Linked DNA regions of Homo sapiens: region 1 is linked to region 2. Evidence: promoter capture Hi-C in human tissues and cell types (Jung and others, 2019). All regions are on one chromosome and are shown on one strand. Each heading gives the region's core, a stretch centred on a gene start or on the middle of the fragment in contact. The rest is flanking DNA. Distances are from core to core; before and after follow the strand shown. Region 1 has its middle 39 kb from the start of ERCC4. Region 2 holds the start of SHISA9 (shisa family member 9).

Evidence for each region. The method cuts DNA at HindIII sites, captures the fragments that hold promoters and counts their contacts. A contact is called where the count stands out against the background at its distance.
Region 1: a fragment that was not itself captured here is called in contact with the fragment with the promoter of SHISA9 in region 2 in 1 of the 25 tissues and cell types used here (lymphoblastoid cells).

What each region holds. Positions count from the first base shown.
Region 1 is chr16:13,957,753-13,960,452 of GRCh38, forward strand. No RefSeq gene overlaps it. Among named protein-coding and RNA genes, the nearest start is that of ERCC4, 39 kb to the left of the region's middle. RefSeq lists enhancers at 1-124, 1-57. The HindIII fragment of the contact is 3,355 bases long and covers 1-2,700 here.
Region 2 is chr16:12,900,226-12,902,925 of GRCh38, forward strand. SHISA9 (shisa family member 9) reads left to right here and starts at 1,373. Exons shown (of 5, transcript NM_001145204.3): 1 at 1,373-2,402. The coding sequence starts at 1,840. The HindIII fragment of the contact is 6,671 bases long and covers 1-2,700 here.

The DNA.
Region 1 (2,700 bases), core at 58-2,557, 1.1 Mb after region 2:
CAACTCCAAGACTTGGTGCTCCCGGCCTCCATTGGTAGGGGTCCCCATTAAGTCCCACGTCCTGAACTACACTGGAGCCCTCGGACACTTTAAGGATCACTGCACTCCGAATTGGGGTGTATCTTCCTCCAATTCTTGCCTAACCATGACAGAGGAGAGACAAAAACTAGATGCCTGACTTCGAGCATGACTCATTATAAACAAATAGAGGACAGATTGACTTCCTCTTATCAGAGCCCGAGTCTGCGCCCCAGGACACAGCATGAGTCAGACTTGAAGTCCCAAGTCTTGTTGGGAATTTTCCCCCTGAGAAAGAGGTAGATTTTTGAGTAGAGTTCTGTTGATTTCTTGAATATTATCAGTGACCCCATGTTAAGCCCTGGGCTTCTGCATCAGGTCACATCCCTTCGAAACCAATAGAGCTTCCAGAGTAAGGATAAAAATTGGCTGTGCTCACAAAGAAACTCATTTGGAATTGATAGAAATGTTTGTAATTTTAGCGGTGATGGTTTTGCAATGTATAGATGTCAAAATCATAAAAGCATACACTCAATATGTGCAGTGTATTGTATATAAATTATACTTCAAATATTTTTTAGAAGAAACATAGTTTAGCAGGAAAAAAAAAGATGTAGTAGGCACCTGCATTGAAATGAGAACTGAAGACATTGGTTGAATAAGTAAGTGGTTAAGGTAAAGAAACCGTAAACGACTAACAGAATGCTAAAAATGCCTACACTTAGAAGAAGGGAAGATACAGACAGAATATTAGAAGAAGAAACTGAGTCATCCAGCAGCCAGAATGAAACAGGAGGGAATTTATAGGGAGTGACCCACAACACCAGGAGCTGAGCAGTATCAGCGTAGATAGCCTGGTGGCCTTTGACGCAACAATGAAGAGAGCACTGGTCATCCTGCGTGGTGGTTAATTATTATTATGATTTATCATGAAGTTCAGTGTTACCTCCTCCCTTCCCCATCCATACCGATCTATTGCTTGTATTTGGGTGCAAACACACACAGAGTACCTGCCTGAAGGGATCATGAGGTCACAGCATCCAATGCTGATCTCAGACTCCCAGAGTGTGTGTTAGTAGGTAACATTTATTTTTACTCAACTCCGTATTTCACTAGGTAAAAGGGAATGAAGGCAGTCGGGATAGGTGAAACCCAGGTTGTGACAAATTTGGAGGAGGGTGGGGGAGCTGTTGGGTATTAGATTGGTGCAAAAGTAATTGTGGTTATTATGCCAGGAGCGGTGGCTCACGTCTGTAATCCCAGCACTTCGGGAGGCGAGGTGGGTGGATCACTTGAGGTCAGGAGTTTGAGACCAGCCTGGCCAACATGGTGAAACCCATCTCTACTAAAAATACAGAAATTAGCCGGGCATGGTGGCCAGTGCCTGTAATCCCAGCTACCTGGGAGGCTGAGGCAGGAAAATCATTTGAACCCAGGAGGAGGAGGTTGCAGTGATCCGAGATCGCACCACTGCACTCCAGCCTGGGTAACAGAGCAAGACTCGTCTCAAAAAAAATGAAAATCAAAAAATAAATAAAACATTTTTTAAAAGTAATTGCAGTTATTGCCATTATTTTCAATGGCAAAAACCTCAATTCCTTTTTTTTTTTTTTTTTTTTTTGAGATAGAGTTTCCCTCTTGTTGCCCACACCGGAGTGCAATGGCGTAACATTGGCTCACTGCAACCTCCGCCTTCCAGGTTCAAGTGATTCCCCTGCCTCAGCCTCCTGAGTAGCTGGGATTACAGGCATGTGCCACCACACCTGACTAATTTTGTATTTCTAGTAGAGACGGGGTTTTGCCATGTTGGTCAGTCTGGTCTCGAACTCCTGACCTCAGGTGATCCACCCACTTCAGCCTCCCAAAGCACTGGCATTACAGGCATGTGCCACCGTGCCCTGTCCGCAGTTACTTTTACACCAACCTAGTAGCAAAGGAAAAAGAAGCACCTTCAAGGTACCCCACCCCAGGCGGCCACAGGACAGGAGAAGGCTGTTTTTGCCTTCAGGTTTCAGCAAATTCAAGTTGAGTCAAGCCAACAGCATGACAGCATGCAAGAGCTGTGCCATTGGGCTGTGGCCACAAAACACACACACGTGAAATGACTTAAAGCTTGGAAACCAGCACACCAGGGAGCAAATTAATTTAGGGAGAAATGAATACGTGTGTGCTTAGATGGCACAAAAGAAAGAACAAAGTCTTTCGGCAAGCCAGGTTAATCGAAGAGCAGGCAGCCATGAGGGTGGAGTGGCCCGGATTTTTTTTTTTAATGTAAATAACTTCAAGTGGGAAAATATGAACGTGTATCCATGCATGGACTTGCTTATGATCTTCTGAAAAGTACATGATCTCTCTCTATTTCAGATAAATGCCCTTAATGATGGGAAAGGAGGCTTTTCCTTCCTCTTGCTGTAGATATTCTGGAATATCTACTTCTGACTGCTAACCTTGCGGGAAAGGTCTTTCATTTTGACTGCTGACTTCATCCAAAAGGAATTAATTATTTCTTTCATTTTCCCTTCAGTCTCGGTGAGGCCAGCATTTTCCTGCTGCCATCTTTTGGCAAACAAATTCAACATACGCAAGTGATTTGGAGAATTTGCCATCTTAATAGGAGGGTCAGCTGGGCCCGGTGGCTCACACCTGTAATCCCAGCACTTTGGGAGGCTGAGGCAGGCGGAT
Region 2 (2,700 bases), core at 123-2,622:
CAACAGAGTCCCAATAAATCCTCCCACCCTTTCTCAATTCAGGGGACCCTAGTAAACCATTTTACATGTCGCCCAACTTTTCGTTCTCTGAAGATGCCCTGAGAAGCCCTTGACTGCAGCCAAGTGGAGAGGAGGGTTGTGGAAACATTATCTCCTTGCAAATCGCCTAGCAGCCTGCAAAGTGTATACTTAGTTAATGCAATTAAAAAACAAAACGCCGGGGCGTGGGGAGATCTAAATTTGGTGTAGCAGCTTTGGTGCAAATCCTGTTTTGGGGCTACTGGAGTCAAATTCAAGCAGAGGAGAGAAAGAGGTGGGAGAAATGAGAGAGGGCCTCCGGGGAGCTGGAATTCGCTAGGAGAGAGAGGGCAGATTTGGAAACACAGAGGAGACGGGAGGCTGGAAGCTGAGGAAGCAAGGCAGAGCTCTGCAGCCCCCGGTGAGGATTTCCGGGGGGATCCGTGGGGACAGGGGCCAGCCAGCTCCAGAGACCGATGCGCGGGCTCCAGGTCCGGGAGGGTGGCTGAGGCTGGGTGCCCAGGCCTTGCGCTGCGCCAGATCCGGGAGCGCAGAGGCGGCGCCGCGGTGTTCCCTCCTGTGGAGCGCAGAAAACGCTGCGGGGGCGAAGAGGGACAGAAAGCGGCAGGTTCGAGAGGCTGGGGGACTTCCAAGGAAAGACCTTCCAGGACACGCCATAGCCTCGGCCTTGTTCGGCTGTCCCCTCTTACCCCCGACCTTCTTTGATTCGTTCATCCCGAGCCCCTCTCCCCCGGAGGGTGCTTATCCCTGGCTCAGGGGCTTGCCACCTGTCCTTCCCAGCTCCGCCTGGGTCCTTGCTTGGGCCCAGAGAGTTGAGCCATGCGGGTTGCGCTCAGGGCTGGAGGGCGCAGCCGGGAAGGGCAAGGAGGCCCCGCACGCCTGGGAGGGGCGATCCTGACCAGACTGCACCCAGTCTGTCTTGGAGTGAAAGCCATTTAGTCTGTCCCCATCCTCTCCGAGTCATCCTTCCCCTGATGCACAGATTTCGGCCGCCGCTCCTGCACACGCACCGGTGAAAAAGCTACGAGCTGAGCCGCCTCTGCGCTCTGGACAGGGCTGAGCCGCGCCTCCTACCCAGAGAGGGCGCGGGAGGTCCTGCCGCGGTTTTCCACCTGCCTGGAAATCCGAGCGGCTCCTCTAGCCTCGGCTGCTGCCGAGCTCGCTCCTCCCCGTCCGCTCGCCTGGCTCAGCTCTGCACGCCCCCCAGCTAGCTCCCGCTCTAGTCACCTCTTCCCCGCGCCCCCGCCCCTCTAGAGCTCGCGCCCGCCCCCCCCCACCCGCGCCTCCTCTGCCCGCCCTCCTCCCCCTCCCCCTTCCCTCCTGCCCTCCCTTCATTCCACAAGTGTCGCTTCGCTCTCTTCAGCGCACTTGGCGAGCTGGTGAGGTGAGAGGGATACTGCGAGAGGGCTAGGGGCGGCCAGTCCGGGGCTGCCGGCCAAGGCTAGGCGCTGCCAGCCCGATTCTCCTCTGCTCTCCACCCCCGCCTCACCCAGTGGCCGGCCGGACCTGCACCCCGCGCTTGACCCCGCTCATCCTCCCCCCGCCCGGCCGGGCGCGCTCCTCCCCGGCCGGCCCCTCGGCGCGCGGCGCGCTGGAGGCGAACGCGGGCTGAGGCGAACGCGGGCTGAGCCGAGCGCAGTGGCCGCCGACCACCGAGCGCCCCGCGCCGCTCCCTGCATGTGCGGCCCGCGGCGGCTCGCAGCTCCCGGCAGCAGCCTCGGCAGCTTCGGCCGCGCCTCGAGAGGCGGCCGCAGAGGCTCCAGCGGCGGCCGAGCGGCCGAGCCCGGGCTGGGAGACACCATGCGCCGCGTCCTTCGGCTGCTCCTCGGTTGCTTCCTCACCGAGCTGTGCGCCCGCGTGTGCCGGGCGCAGGAGCGAGCGGGACACGGGCAGCTGGCGCAACTGGGCGGCGTGTTGCTGCTGGCGGGGGGCAACCGCTCCGGGGCCGCCTCCGGAGAGGCCAGCGAGGGCGCTGAGGCATCGGACGCGCCCCCGACCCGGGCGCCCACGCCGGACTTCTGCCGGGGCTACTTCGATGTCATGGGCCAGTGGGACCCGCCGTTCAACTGCAGCTCGGGCGACTTCATCTTCTGCTGCGGGACTTGTGGCTTCCGGTTCTGCTGCACGTTTAAGAAGCGGCGACTGAACCAAAGCACCTGCACCAACTACGACACGCCGCTCTGGCTCAACACCGGCAAGCCCCCCGCCCGCAAGGACGACCCCTTGCACGACCCCACCAAGGACAAGACCAACCTGATCGTCTACATCATCTGCGGGGTGGTGGCCGTCATGGTGCTCGTGGGCATCTTCACCAAGCTGGGGCTGGAGAAAGCGCACCGGCCCCAAAGGGAGCACATGTCCAGGTGGGCTGCCTCCCCTTCGCCCTCCCCTCGGGGCTTCGCTCTCCCTGCTCTCTCCTCCCCACCTTCCCCCAGGCAATGGCGCTCCCCACGGTCCCCGCTCCCCGCATCCCAGCCTCTCCGCTGGGGGATGTCACCGGGAAGCCAACTTCGGCTTGGAACACGGAGAAGGGGCGCTGGGCTCAGCACAGGTGTGGGTCTGAGCGTGTTCGTGTGTGTGTGAGCGTGTGTGTGTGTGTGTGTGACTCTGCTCCCTCACCCTCTGGCCGCCTCCTCCCGCTGGTGACTGAGGCGGACTTGA